Regions from separate parts of the Homo sapiens genome. Here all the other regions are linked to region 2. Evidence: promoter capture Hi-C in human tissues and cell types (Jung and others, 2019). All regions are on one chromosome and are shown on one strand. Each heading gives the region's core, a stretch centred on a gene start or on the middle of the fragment in contact. The rest is flanking DNA. Distances are from core to core; before and after follow the strand shown. Region 1 overlaps HAPSTR1 (HUWE1 associated protein modifying stress responses). Region 2 holds the start of ABAT (4-aminobutyrate aminotransferase). Region 3 overlaps USP7 (ubiquitin specific peptidase 7).

Evidence for each region. The method cuts DNA at HindIII sites, captures the fragments that hold promoters and counts their contacts. A contact is called where the count stands out against the background at its distance.
Region 1: a fragment that was not itself captured here is called in contact with the fragment with the promoter of ABAT in region 2 in 2 of the 25 tissues and cell types used here (lymphoblastoid cells and spleen).
Region 3: a fragment that was not itself captured here is called in contact with the fragment with the promoter of ABAT in region 2 in 1 of the 25 tissues and cell types used here (spleen).

Annotation. Positions count from the first base shown.
Region 1 is chr16:9,111,628-9,116,557 of GRCh38, forward strand. All of the region lies in intron 3 of HAPSTR1 (HUWE1 associated protein modifying stress responses), which reads left to right. Among named protein-coding and RNA genes, the nearest start is that of HAPSTR1, 22 kb to the left of the region's middle. RefSeq lists a silencer at 3,685-3,979. The HindIII fragment of the contact is 4,154 bases long and covers 1,223-4,930 here.
Region 2 is chr16:8,672,493-8,676,954 of GRCh38, forward strand. ABAT (4-aminobutyrate aminotransferase) reads left to right here and starts at 2,125. Exons shown (of 16, transcript NM_020686.6): 1 at 2,125-2,219. RefSeq lists enhancers at 1,122-1,623, 1,624-2,123 and a silencer at 1,718-2,177. The HindIII fragment of the contact is 24,430 bases long and covers 1-4,462 here.
Region 3 is chr16:8,946,366-8,951,051 of GRCh38, forward strand. The region is part of intron 1 of USP7 (ubiquitin specific peptidase 7); the gene reads right to left. Among named protein-coding and RNA genes, the nearest start is that of USP7-AS1, 14 kb to the right of the region's middle. The HindIII fragment of the contact is 4,822 bases long and covers 601-4,686 here.

The sequences.
Region 1 (4,930 bases), core at 2,050-4,549, 440 kb after region 2:
GCAGTGAAAAGGGCCATGTAGCATGCCTCAAAGCCAGGTTACTCAGCCTAGTCCTTGTTTAAGCAGTTTTGATATTCATTCAAGTTCAATTTTCTCACTGATTTTATGATTAATTTCTTGGAAAATTTGAAAGTTTTCAAGAAGTAAAAAATTAATATCTTGTTATCCCAGTATATAGAGATTAACTTCAGTTCAATGTTTGGTGCATTTTCTTCTAGTCTTTTTTTCAATGTATAAATATTAAAGTTATTTCATAGTTGAGATCATACTGCATATATGATTACTGTATCTTGCTTTTTTCATTTTAACGTCGTGAGCAATTTTCCCATGACATTACAAACTGTCTTTGAAAAATGGAAAACATTTGGGGCTGTCAGCATAACTGAAAATGTTTTCTTGGTGTGACACATGTATCTTTGTAATTGGTTTGATTTAGTGTGCTTTATTTCAATAAAAATTCAGTATTATAATTTACAGATTGGGGTGGGGAGTGGTATCTACTTCAAATTACTGAAATCTTCCTAGTAGAATTCCTTTTTAAATGTTTGAACTCCCCTGGTACATCTTAAACACGACATTGACACTGCAAGTGCTTGGATGTCCTGGCACCTCAGAACACAACTTTGTGCAAAAGGAGTGCTGTGCATCTGAATAGTGCAATTCATTTCCAATGCAAGAATGCCAGTTTCTTAGGGCCCCCGGTCAGGATATTACCCACTTGGTTTAAGTTGTGATTTCAAATCCCATTTTCTATGGGAGATACACTGGTGGAACAAATCTGCAGAGGGCCCTGCACCTGCGCTGGTGGATCAACGGTGTCTTCTCACCTCCAGGGCTAGCTGCCTTGCCTTCCCTCGTGGGGCTTAAGTGGCTGGGAAGCAGATAGACAGTGTAGATGAAGTCCTGGGCCACTGGCTGCTGGACTGAGGCAGTGAGATGACTGGGCTGGCATTTGTTCTTTCTCTGCCTGTGTGTGACCTCTAACTATGTGCCTGGAAACTGAATTACATGTAATTAATGCTGCAAACAGGATTTTCTTATTGCCTAAGCATGAACTTGGTATGAAAATAATAGTTAATAATTTACTATGTAACTTGGATTCTTATAACCTGGACTGTAAGTTTGTTTTAGCTCCAGTGGGAGTTTCCTTTTCAAAGTATGATGAAACCATCCTCATCTTTTCTACCCCTGGACTAATCATTTAAAATGGATACAGACACTTTAAAACTGCTGAGTTTATCTTGTGTTAAGCAATTAAGACTTCTCTGTCTAATCATGCTACTTGTTCTGCTTTTGTCAATTGATACTCTCATAGCCCTTTTGAAAAAGTATGTTTTTGTAGAAATTAAGTTGTATGCCCTCAGGACGTACAACTTGGTTTTTTTTTTTTGTTTTTTTTGTTTTTTTTTGTTTTTTTTTTAGTTCTGAAGCATGTTTAGATTTTTCTGTACTTGTATAGGTCTGATTGTTTATGTGGCTTAGCTAAGGTTTCCTAAAGCATCTTCTAGTAGCTGTCATTGGTTTGTAAAATAAAATTTGGGCTGTCAAAATGCACATTTTTTGGTTGTTAATCTTAATTATTTTTGACCCTTGTGAAAAGTCTTTTTGGGGAAGATTAGGTAGGCAGACTTTGAAAATATTTTCACTGCTATGAGAGTCAGTCATAGATCATATTGCACATTAAAGTTATCAAGATAAACACCCAGGTCATACACCCAGTAGAAAAAGATGATTTCCCAGAAGCTGTTAGAATTTTCAGATTGACCAAATTGATGTTTAACACATCTTCTTTTTCATGGAGAATGGCAGCTGAAACAATAAGGAACATTTGCTTGAAATCCCTAGTCCACTTCTGATACAGTGTTTTGAGCCTTCCATATTTGTTGTTAGGTATTAAACGTGCTGCCATGAGACTCCTATGTTAACAAGGGCATTAGGGTGGGGTTTGTTGAATTCTTTTTATAATTTGAAATGATAAAGGGGATCTTGATTTTAATTATTGAAGTAGCCCAGTTTATTGCTGAACGTGCCCATATTTTGCCATAATAATTACCTTTTGGATTATGAAACAAGTACGAAAGGTTATCTTTGAAGAACATGGGCACCTTGTAATATGTTACAGGCTGAGACACTAGGATGAAAGAAGGCACATCTCTCCCCTCAAGTTTAGTCTTGCGGTAGAACTTTAAAAAAAAGCCAACAATGGGGATAATTGAGTTTTAAACTTGATGGCAATGATTTAAGTGAAGAGAACACCTGGGTTTATTTTCTGGTGTTGGAGAGGTGAATAAACATCAACAGTTGAACCTTTGATTTCAGTGGATTTCAACATGAGGGGGTAGGACTTTGAAGTATTATTCTTTTTCAGAATTCGTAAGTGCCAGGCACTGTGCTTAGGTCATTAGATGGAGATGAAAAGATATTTTCTATAGGAAGAGACGGTTGATTGTACCATGCTGTAGAAAGATAGCTCAAGATTTTTTTTTGGTTTATTTTGTTTTTTAAAAGTAAGCTTGTGCCGGTTGGGGAAGAGGAAGTGAAGTTCCTTTTTGATGGTGTTGAGTTTGAGATGTCCAGTAGGCAGTTAGAAATCTGGGAGGGCCGTTGAGCTCATTAGTCTAGTTTTGGGAAACGTGTGTGGGTAAGGTAGGGGTTGAGGATATCACCCAGGGTGACACCAGCCTTTCAGGGGCAGAAGGGAACCCCACCAAGGCGACTGAGGAGTGAGCGGAGAGTTTCAATTTCAAGGAGGGGGAAAGAGGAGCCAGCAGGAAACTAAAATGGAGAGGTAGGAGAACCAGGGAAGGAGCCTCATAAGGGAGGTGCTGGGGAACAGGTGGGCTCACTCAGGGAGTGAATGTTGGGAGAGACAGACATTTGCAAATGTTGGAAGAGACAGATAGTTGCAGGCCTCACTATTTCAGAGAGCTGCAAATTGCATGATGTTGGTAGTCGGGATACGGTCTAAGGGTGAAGTGAAGAGAGCAGGAAGGGAAGAGAGAGAAACTGTTCAAAGAGATGAGGCCTAAGAGGCAGGCTGGCCCTAGGACCAACCTGAAGCCACCTTTTTGCTAAAATACTCTAGGCTTGGAAGAGGATCAGAATAACTGAATAGGAATATAGATTACACTTGGGTGGGAGTGCCAGCTCTTGTTTACTACCTGTTGACCTTGGATGAATTAACTTTTAAACTTGGGTTTTCACCTGCAGAATGGAGATATTATAGGTGTCATAGGAAGTAATTGACATAGTACCTGACACAGGAAGTATTCTCATGTTAATGCTTCTATTTTTTAATAGGTGCTAGCCTTGGAAAGGTTGAGAGGCTGAAGAGGGACAGTTTGATTTCCTCTGACCACCAGCAGGAGGGGAGGATGTGTCTTCTGCAGGGAGAGCAGCCAGGGGGATTGGTTGGATCAGTGCAGAAAGGAATGGGGGCACCTAGAGTGCGGAGTTGAGCACCTCAGAAGGGAGGTGTGGCCCTCAGGACATTGTCAGCATGTGCGATGATAGTGGAGGCCATGGATTTGAGAACATTTCAGAGAATATTTGATGGAGGGGAACGCCAAGGGGAATGTAATAGATTTGTGATAGGAGGCAGAGACTTTTCAACTTAAAATTCAAATTTAAACTACATTTTTAGGGAGTTCATGATTAGAAAGAATGGGCCCCTGTCAAATGAAACCTCTAAGCTTACTTGAAAATCTTATAAGTCCTATTCTTTGAAAATTAATTGATAGTCAAGCAATAACAGATCCCTAGGTGAGGAGAGAATAGTGGAAGGGGAAATTCCTAAGGCAGAAGATCACTGCCAGTGACGGTAGGTTTTTAAAAATGCAACACTGTGTTTGGTGTTTCCTGGCCTGACTCATACCTTTCACAGGTTTATCCTGAATGTTTAGGAGTGGAATGTAAGTTTGGCTCTTTAACTGTGTAAGAGTTTAAGGAAAGGAATAAGTATCCATGAGTGCTGGGTATATTCTGGATTCAGTAAAGTAACTCTTTTGTTTTTGAGACGGAGTTTCGCTCTTGTCACCCAGGATGGAGTGCAGTCTCGGTTCTTTGCAACCACCGCCTCCCGGGTTCAAGCGATTCTCCTCCTTAGCCTCCCGAGTAGCTGGGATTACAGGCGCCTGCCACCACGCCGGGCTAATTTTTGTATTTTTTAGTAGAGACGAGTTTTCACCATGTTGGCCAGGCTGGTCATGAACTCCTGACCTGAAGAGATCTGCCCGGCCTCCCAAAGTGCTGGGATTACAGGTGTGAGCCACTGCGCCTGGCCTTGGATTCAGTAACTCTTAATGTTGAAAACAAAGCAGCAGGATTCTTCACAACCCTCTCCCCTCCCCACTTCCATGAAGGATTAGAGAGGCTCATGATTGAGGCTGTCCTGAAGGATATCTACCAAATACATTCCAGACCTTAGGTGATCACATAGCCTGATTTGTCCAGGGTAGACTGACTTTGTACCTCATGTCCCAGTAGAAATTTTAACAGTGACTCTTTTCGGGCTCAACAGTAATCTGTTTTGGATGGCAAGTTATGTGATCACCTTATCTAGAGGGGATGTTGGAACAAGCCCACCTAGGCCTGGAAGTGATTTCTGGCTCTCCTGAATACATCACACACATACACACTCATCAGAGGGGTCTGTTGGAATGGTAACTTTGGGTAACCAAAAATGTCTTGTCTTTAAAGCAAATGTCTCCTGTCCTTATCTGTAAATTTTGTGCAGTACCTACCTCATAGATGGGAGAATTTAATGAGATATTTGTACACCTAGCACGGTGGTTGACACGTAGTAACTTTTAGTAATTGGTAGTTACCAATATTGTAGATATTGGTAGTATTACCAATAAAATATATGTCAAGGCCAGATGATATGTTTATCCAGAATAAAACTTAATTGCTTACTAGTAATCCCTTATAA
Region 2 (4,462 bases), core at 875-3,374:
CCTTGGCTCAAGCGATCCTCTTGCCTTGGCTTCCCAAAGTGCTGGAATTACAGGCGTGTCACCACACCCAGCCCCATTCAATATTTCATACCTATGTTTATTGTTCAATTTCATGCAACAATTTCCCTCTGAGTCCCTGCTGTTGTGCATTCAAGTTGTTCCCAGTTTTTCCCTGTGATAAACAAAATGGTAGTAAGCTACTTTATCATTAAATCTTTGTACCTTTAAATGTTTTCAGATAAGTTCATAGGGATTGGATTGCTAGATCAAAGGGTCAACTTACTTTTAAGATTTTTAAAATAGAAATACCCAATTTCCCTCCAGAAAGGCTGTGATCTTTCTACTGCCATCATCAATACATGAAACTCCTTGAAGTCTTTGCAAAGAATAGTAATTATAATAATAAAAACAAGGTCATTTTGGTAGGTAAACTCTTTCCCTCTTTTGGTTTTAACTTGCCTTTCCTTTTCAAAGTGTCATCTCCCATGTTTATTGGCCGTTGTATTTCTTTGGGCAGGTCAAGGGTAGTAAAGGGGATTATGTTCATGGCTTTGGTTTTAAGAAAAAATTGCTAGATTTTCAGCACAGGCCTCATCAAGTTCCTCAAGCAAGGTGACAATCACCCAGGCTAGAGTGCAGTGGTGCCATCTCACCTCAGTGCAACCACTGCCTCTCCATTCAAGCGATTCTCATGTCTCAGCCTCCCAGGTAGCTGGGATTACAGGCAGGTGCCACCATGCCAGGCTAATTTTTGTATTTTTAATAGAAAGGGGGTTTCCCCATGATGGCCAGGCTGGTCTCGAGCTCTGGGCATCAAGTGATCTGCCTGCCTCGGCCTCCCAAAGTGCTGGAATTACAGGCGTAAGCCACTGTGCCAGGCCTCAATTATTCTTATTTACTGCTCTGTGTGTGTGTGTGTGTGTGTGTGTGTGTGTGTGTGTGTGTGTTGGGGGGGAGGGTCCCCAGAGGTGACACTAGGAGGTGAATGATTTGTTTGGCAGCTTTCTATTTATCTATGTGTTTACTTTATCTTAATTCTTTAATTGCAAGGACTATAGCGCTTGTGTAATCAGAGATAGGGCAGCCTGGATTCCTGGACAGCAGGAGGAGAGACCTCAGGGTTCTACAAGACTCCACAGACCAAGTTATCAGTGATCAGGGTGAGTGGGGAGAACCAAGCTGAACTCTTTCTCTGCCTTTAAGGTCTGTACTCTCCATCCATCCATTCATTCATTATGAGGACTTGGTGATCGCCTGTTGTCTTGATGAGCAGTTCTTTGTGTCTTTGATTTTGTCACTGAAAGATTGCATCCTCTTTCCAAATACCTCTAGAAAGCTGTGGGGGGGCTATCCATCCGTCACACCTGAGTATTAATTATCTTCCACACAGCATTTTATACAACGGTAGAAAGGCACCTTCATCATATCTAGGGTCTCGTTTATACCCACGAAGGAGGTACAATCTCTGTTGTCCCAATTTCAGGAAATTGAGGATCAGGAGGCGCAGTGACCTGCTCCAGGTCATGCAGAAGGAACCACCTCTGACTCCCAGCGCCCTGTTTGTCTTCCGGAGCGCTGGGGCCAGGCGGAGGAAAGTAGCTGGGAGCAAGAAGGGCTGGCAGGGCCCTGAGCGCCGAGATGGGGAGTGAGGTGGGGAGGGCGGGATGCTCCTTCCCTTCTCCGCAAAGGAACCCCTTCTGATTCCGACTCTGGAGCTCCAGAGACCGGATCCGAGACGCGGGTGGAGGTGGAGTTACACTCGCCTGCAGCCCTGAGGGTGTAAATGGCCCATTAAGATCCAGGTTAAATCAACCTATGGAGCTGCCCCCCAGAGGGTCAGGGTCCCCACAACTTGACGGGGGTCCTCAGCCGTCTCCTCCCCAGTCCCAGGACTCCCTCCCAGCCCTCGCGGTCCCTCTGGTGGGTCCCGCCCCAGCCCCCGTCTCCCCCGCCCCCGGAGGCTGGACTCTGCCCCCGCCCCGCCTGCCACCTCCCTCCTGGGGGCGGTGGCCCGTGGCGGGCGCACCCATTGGCTGTGGCGAAAGCGAGGGCCGGGGCTGGCGGCGCTGATTGGCCGGGACGCTCGGCGGAGCCAGGGAGTCCGGCGAGTCGCTGGGGGAAGTCGAGCAGACACCCAGCGCTGCCGGAACTCGGGGCGCGCATCCCGCAAGTCGGAACCCGGCGGATCGGATCCCGCAGATCGGAGACGGGGCCTGGAGGTGAGCGCGAGGCGCCGGGTGGCTTGGGACGGGCCCTTCCGAGGGGAGCCGAGAGGAGGTCCTTCTGCCCTGCCCCCAGGAGCAAAACCTGGGCATCTTCTCCTGGAAACGGAGCCCTCATCTTCCCAAGACGCGGGGCCCTCCCCCGAAAAGACAGGGGCTCCCACCCCCCAGAGAGCAAAATACCTTCCTTTCTCCTTCAGAAATGGGCCCTTCCTCCTGGCTCCAGCTCTAGACAGAAGTCCTCTCCCTTTTACCGCTTGAAATAGAATGCGGCCCCAAAAAGTGGTCTCCAGGTCTCTAGAGCCCCCTCACCTCTTGGGAGACTGATGCCCCTTCCCCATCCTTAGAAAACTAAGTTTGGGTGTCTTCCTTCTCCCCTCTCTTTCGGAATAATGGGGGTCTTCTCAGCTTATAAATTACAGTGACCTCCCCCTCCATGACAAATGGAAGCTCTCCCCCCATCATAAGACAAGGAAATCCCGGAGCAGAGACTCTGCAAGTCACCCTCCCACCCCAGATACTGGGCTCTGGAGAGATAGATGATTCACCCTTAGCCCTGCCGGAGACCCCTCCCTACCCGTCAGAGAGGCAGGGTGGCCTCTGACACCACCACATTAAAGGCTTTTGGGGATTTCCCCTCTCCTCCCCAGTAAAGATGTAAAATGAGGGACCTTCATACTCAGGAGCAGGGCAAAGGTCTGGCCACCCCTCCAAGTCATCCACCTCCCTCCACTCCACCCAAGCCCTTTCACACAAACCCCATCCTAGTAACCCCCTGCACCATCCTCCCACCGCTCCCAATCCCATCCTTCTCCACCTCACCCCAACTCCACTCCCACACCTGGCTGCCCCACCTATTTCACATCCTCTCACCTTTCCTCACCCACCCTGGCCAAGGTAAGACTAGAGGGGGTTCAGCGAGATTTAGTAAGACTGGAGCTCTTAAAACTGGGATCTGGGGCCTAGAGGCCCTTCCAGGAGTCTTCAAACTCTGACAACAGAGATGGCCTCTGAGGCAGCAGGACCAGCAGAGACCACCCGCCACCTCTCCCCCGCTCCCTGCCCCAACACACGCACAAAGGCTGTGTTCAATGCATTCTCTCTTGCAGTCTGGGAGGACAGCTGGCCCTCTTCCAAGAGGGCCCGCATTTCCCCCCTAAAGTGTGCACCCCCGCAAGCGCCTGTGGACATTGCCTGGTGGAATTCCCTGGGCACTCAGCCAAGAGAAATGGGTGCTGCTGGGCCCATCCACTGGGGAGGAGACAGTGTTGGCTTTGCTGCTTTGATGAAGCTAGACTAAGGGACAGGATGTTGGTGACCTGGGGGTGGGGAGGGGGTGGGAAGAGCTCTTCTCTGGTGGGTCAGGTTGGGAGGCAGGAGAGAGGGAGGCAGTGAGTTGTGTCTTGCTCTTTGGAGCCTGTGTTGCGGCGTGGAGTCATAGAGAAATGTGTTTTCTCGAGGCCCAAAGAGGTTAGCCACGGGGAGAGGTAAATGGTCCAGTCTGGAGTCCTAAGACCTAAAAGGGCTTCTGCATTAAAGACGTGGCCCCTTCATTTGACAGTTAAACACACAGAGGCACAAAAGGGGAAGAGACTTGCTCAAGGTCACCCAGCCTGTGGGAGACAGCTGGCCCCAACCCCTCCAGGACCCTTAAGGTGCTAGGATCCCTGACACAAGCCCCAGTCCTCACATTTACAATGGGGACTTGGGGACTGCTGGGTCCCAAGTCCCCACTTGTCAGAGGAAGCGCCAAGGCTCTGCAAAGGTCATGAAGCCAGGAAGGGGCAGAGCTGGAACTCAATGCCATCCCCCAGCAGGCTGCCTCGTGGAATCCATTCCTGGGTGTCAGCGCATCCCTGCTTACCCCGTGCGATCTTTGTGTTGAGGCCATTGCCAAATCTAGGCTTGCCAAAATCCAAACTGACCCAGGATAGCTAATAAGATCAGTTGCAGCTAATGAGAATGAGATGCTGGAGTGGAGGCTACTGCAGGAACCTCACTTGCATAGCTGGGTTTGCTCCAAGAACTTTGGACAGGTCCTGAGGATGTCATATTCCTTCCCTCCAAGGTCCCCTCCCTCTTAGCCCCTGCCCACGCCCTCTGGCTTTGAGTTCCCTGCACATTGTCTCATCTCTGTTCAGAGGCCTGCGTCTTTTCTCCTGGGGCATTGCATGGGAAAAGAGCTGAAATTCTGGCAGATTCTCTAGGACCACCCAGCTGGGCAGCATGGTCTGAAGTAG
Region 3 (4,686 bases), core at 1,762-4,261, 270 kb after region 2:
TGGCCAGGAGTTCAAGACCAGCCTGGCCAATATGGTGAAACCGCATCTCTAAATAAAGAAAAAAACTGTTGATCAACTTTGCTCCAGAAAGACTTATGCTCCAGAAAGAAGCTGTTAAGTGAATACACACGAGCTACAGACCAGCAGAAAATATCTGCAAATCGCGTATCTTACAAAGACTCAAATCTCAAATATATAAACAACAGTTCACAAAACTCAACAGCTGGACAAAACTCAACTAAAAAGTCAGAATAGCTGAACTGACACTCTGAAGAGCATACAGGCATGGCAAAGGCACACCTCCAATAATCTGGTCACTGGCCTATACCCCAGCCCCACACACCAGCAGATGCAAAGGCGGCCTCCACACAGCCACTCACGCTCAACCACTCAGCCATCTGCCAGCACGCAGAAGGCTCCACCTACAGAGCAAACAGCAGCAGGCGTTTCCAACAACGCCAATGTCTGGGCATATAAACTCAACTTTTTAATATAACTGTATAATAAAATGTATCAACATTTAGCAGACCTGTAAAACTTGATGAATCCATATTTTCCAAACGGCCAATAAATGCAACTGGAAAAAATCCACTGAAAGTGCATGACGAACTTAAGGTAATGGGGCGGGGTGAATTAACCTTCATTAAGTTACCACTTGTTTTGCTTTGCTGTAGTTATCAGAGAATAGTCAATCATTCAAAAAGGCTACTAAAGCATTCCTCCTGTTTTTTTCAGTATATCTCTGTAAGATTGGTTTTTTCATATTTTAATTAAAATTACACTGCAGCTGACTGAATGCACAAGCAGGTATGAAGTCTTCTATTACAACAGACAATAAAGAAATTTACAAAAATGTAAAGCAATGCCATTCCTCTCAATACACTTTTGGAAAATAATTATTTTTTATACAACATTACTTGGAAAATAATTATTTTTTATACAACATTACCATGTGCTGGTTTATTGTTTTTCCACAGCACTCCCCCCCCCAACACACACACACACAGGGTCTCACTCTTATCACCCAGGCCGAAGTACAGTGGTGCCATCTCGGCTCACTGCAACCTCCACCTCCCAGGTTCAAGCAACTATCCCACATCAGCCTCCTGATTAGCTGGACTACAGACATGCACCACCACACCCAGCTAATTTTTGTATTTTTAGAAAAGACTGGGTTTCACCATGTTGCCCAGGCTCGTCTCGAACTTCCGGCCTCAAGTGATCCACCCGCTTCAGCCTCCCAAAATGCTGGGATTACAGGTGTGCGCTTATTTTTCAATCAATAAACATTTAAGGTTGGCCTTAATTTCTATATGGTAAATAACAGTAGCTATAACCCACCCACCAAAAGCTCTTTAAGGGGTGAAGTCTTTTAGGACTTCGACAGGATCCTGCCATCAAAAACTTAGCTATTCCAGATGTGGGACTGCCTGATGGGTTTGTGCCATGCTGCCTCAGCTAGGTGGGCATGCCATGCCCCTCCCTGCACAGCTCCCACTTTTGAGACCCTCAGTGTGCAATTCGGAAGGTGGGAGTAAAGCAGCTGCCACATGCCATTATGCCTGGGGATTTCTCTGTCTCCAGGGTCTTTAGGCTCCATTACTGCCCTGGAAGCTTGGACATGGTGACAGGCACTTTGGAGCGCAGCACTGCCTGGCTCCCCACTCCCACCCACCACCTCTCGAAGACTGCATGCCCTGCAGACGTCAGTCAGCTCCAGCACCAGACCCAGATGCTAATAGAGCTCCCACCACTGTGGCCTGTAAAATCCCACTAATAAATCCCTGCATCCCTTTCCCACAGTTCCGCTCCCCTGATGGAACCCTCAACTGACCTTGATTCCTCCCTCCCACCAGCCCAGGCTGGAGAATGAGTGGCACCATCTCAGCTCACTGCAGCCTCAACTTCCTGGGCTCAAGCAATCCTCCCACCTCAGCCTCCAGAGTAGCTGGAACTACAAGCACACGCCATCATGGCTGACTAATTTTTGGCATTTTTTTGTAGAGACGAGTTTTCACCATGTTGCCCAGGCTGATCTCAAACCCCTGGGCTCAAGCTATCCACCGGCCTCGGCCTCCCAAAGTGCTGGGATTACAGGTATCAGCTGCCACACCTGGCCCCCAGTTAACTCAACTTAGTAAGTGAAGCATATTCCTAACTGCAAAAAAAGTTCAAATCCCTTTAAAAATACTGACTAAAGCCTATTACAGATGACACAATCCTAAGAACCTGCACATCTCTTTGCTAAATCATGGTGAAGTTCCACACGATGGAATATTATTCTGCGAGAAAAGGGAACGACTACTGGCTACGATGTGGATGAACCTTGAGGATATTAAGCTAAGTAAAAGCAGCCAAAAACAAGCATGGACAACACAACGATAAAAGCAGCCAAAAACAAGCATGGAAAACACAGCGAAACCCCGTCTCTAGAAAAAAAATACAAAACTTAGCCAGGCGTGGTGGCGTGTGCCTGCAGTTCCAGCTACTCGGGAGGCTGATGGGAGAGGATGGCTTTGGCCCAGGAGCTTAAGGCTGCAATGAGCTATGATCAAACCACGGCACTCCAGCCTGGGTGACAAGATCTTGTCTCCCAAAGGGGAAAAAAAAAAGCTTACACAGTCTATGAAATGTCTAGAATAGGCAAATCCATAGATTAGTGGTGACTGCTAATGGGTACAGGATTTCCTTTTGTGGTGATGAAAATGTGCTCGAATTGAATGCTGATAGTCACACAATTGTGAATACTAAAAACCACTGAACCCACTTTAAATGGGTGAATTGTGGTATGTGAATTATCTCTCAATGAAGTTATTTTAAAAATCATGATTGTTACCGAATTTTATCAAAAAGCACAGATGCAAATCTAATCCTTTACAACTGTTACCAAACCAGGTAAAATTAAGGTTAACTGGCATTTAACATCGTGGCACGTTCCACTGGGATTGAAACTGAGACATAAAAATGCAATGCAATTGATTGTTGGGTACTATGTAGGGAAAAACTACTGTTCGAGGCATTGAAAATGCCTGGGGCACAGTCCCTGAACTTTACAACCTCAAAGTCTAGTGGAGAAGAAAAGCAAAGTAACACAACACAACATGGCAATTCCAATACAATGGACATACCCAGGACAGCCTGTGCTTCTATTTTCATCCACCCAGAAGCCTTGCCGCTGCCATCCTTACCTCCAAATCCCCGAGCTCAAGTCCTAAGCCTACTTTAAGGCCCACCACAACACCACCTCTTCACCATGCCTTCCTTCTCTCAGAGTGCAATCTTGTTCTTCAATTTCCAGGCCCCTATCTGCTCACCTCTGTGCATTCATCACCTTCTGCCCTCATTATTTGCTCATATGACCTATCTGAACCCATGCTGGCTTTCCTTACGCAGAGACACCTTATCACTTCATCTCTGCTTCCCCTCCAAGCCCCCAGGGCCTGAAGCAGTGATTACCAGCAAGTATGCCCTAAGCTGAGCTTGGGGAAGCTCCTTCTAAGAAGTTATTACATGAAAATGCTTGGCTTTCCATATTCTAAACCATACTGGTCAAGGAGGTCTAACGGTTGCTATCCCCTAGAATAGCAAAGGAAAACCCCCATTCACAGGCTCTGTCTAAACAGCAGTGCTGTCCCACCAACCATAGAAGCCAGGAGCTGCATGTGGCAACTGAGCGCTTGAAACATGGCTGTTGTGACAGAGGAATTGGTATTATTAATCTTATTCAATTTAATTTTATTTAAATAGCCACATGTACTTATTGAGCACATGAAATATGGCCATGGAGACCAAAAAACCAAATATTTATGTATTTAATTTAATCAACCACATGTGGCTAGTGGCTGCCACAGTGGACAGCGAAGGTCTAGAAATAATGTTATCACTCAGAGCCTTGGTATCTAGGCTTGCAGAGTAGAAGACACAACAGACATTTTCTGCTCTAAAAAAAAAGATGGGACCCAGTGCTCTCTGATAAACACTCAAGATTAAAACAGTATTTTAAGAAAAATAAAAGCCCTTTAATTTCATCAAAAAAGAATTACATTTTAAATAACAGCTTCTGATTTCCAAAGGAAATACTGATCATTAAGAGTAAATGCAGATGTGTGGTGCTAATTCTTCCTCTCCAGACCCCTTACCCCAAGGCAATTAACCCCAACTTGAGAACACTGAAGACTTTGATCACTTGGGCTGGGACAGAGCTTTCAGCAGCACATTTCCCACAGGACTGGGCGCTGACAGAGACAACAGTCTCAGTTACCAACCCAGCCCTGTCTGCCACGAACATGGCACTGCTAATTGTCCAAGATTCAGAAGCTGTATGTGCCTGGCTGCCCTGCATCCTGAAGCTCAACCAGTCACCCGCAGGGCCACATCCCACTGGCGAGGGACCCAAGGGTCACCTGGCTTACATGCATGTCTTCCCCAGGCACTGACCAGCGCACGACAGTGATCTGAGCGGGCACTATTTGTCACTTGTTTCTGCGCACACAGTCACTCCTGACCAAGTTCAATGGGGCCAGAACTTGGGCCTCCTGTCTTATTTTTCCCAAGAGAACCTCATGTACAATTGGTGACCAGTTAAGTAACCATTCAAGCTAAGATCTGTGCACAGACTGAAAAAACTGATCTGATGCAACGTCCCAAGAATTCACAGCTCTTGTGCATTGTGTGAGCAGCAGCGAC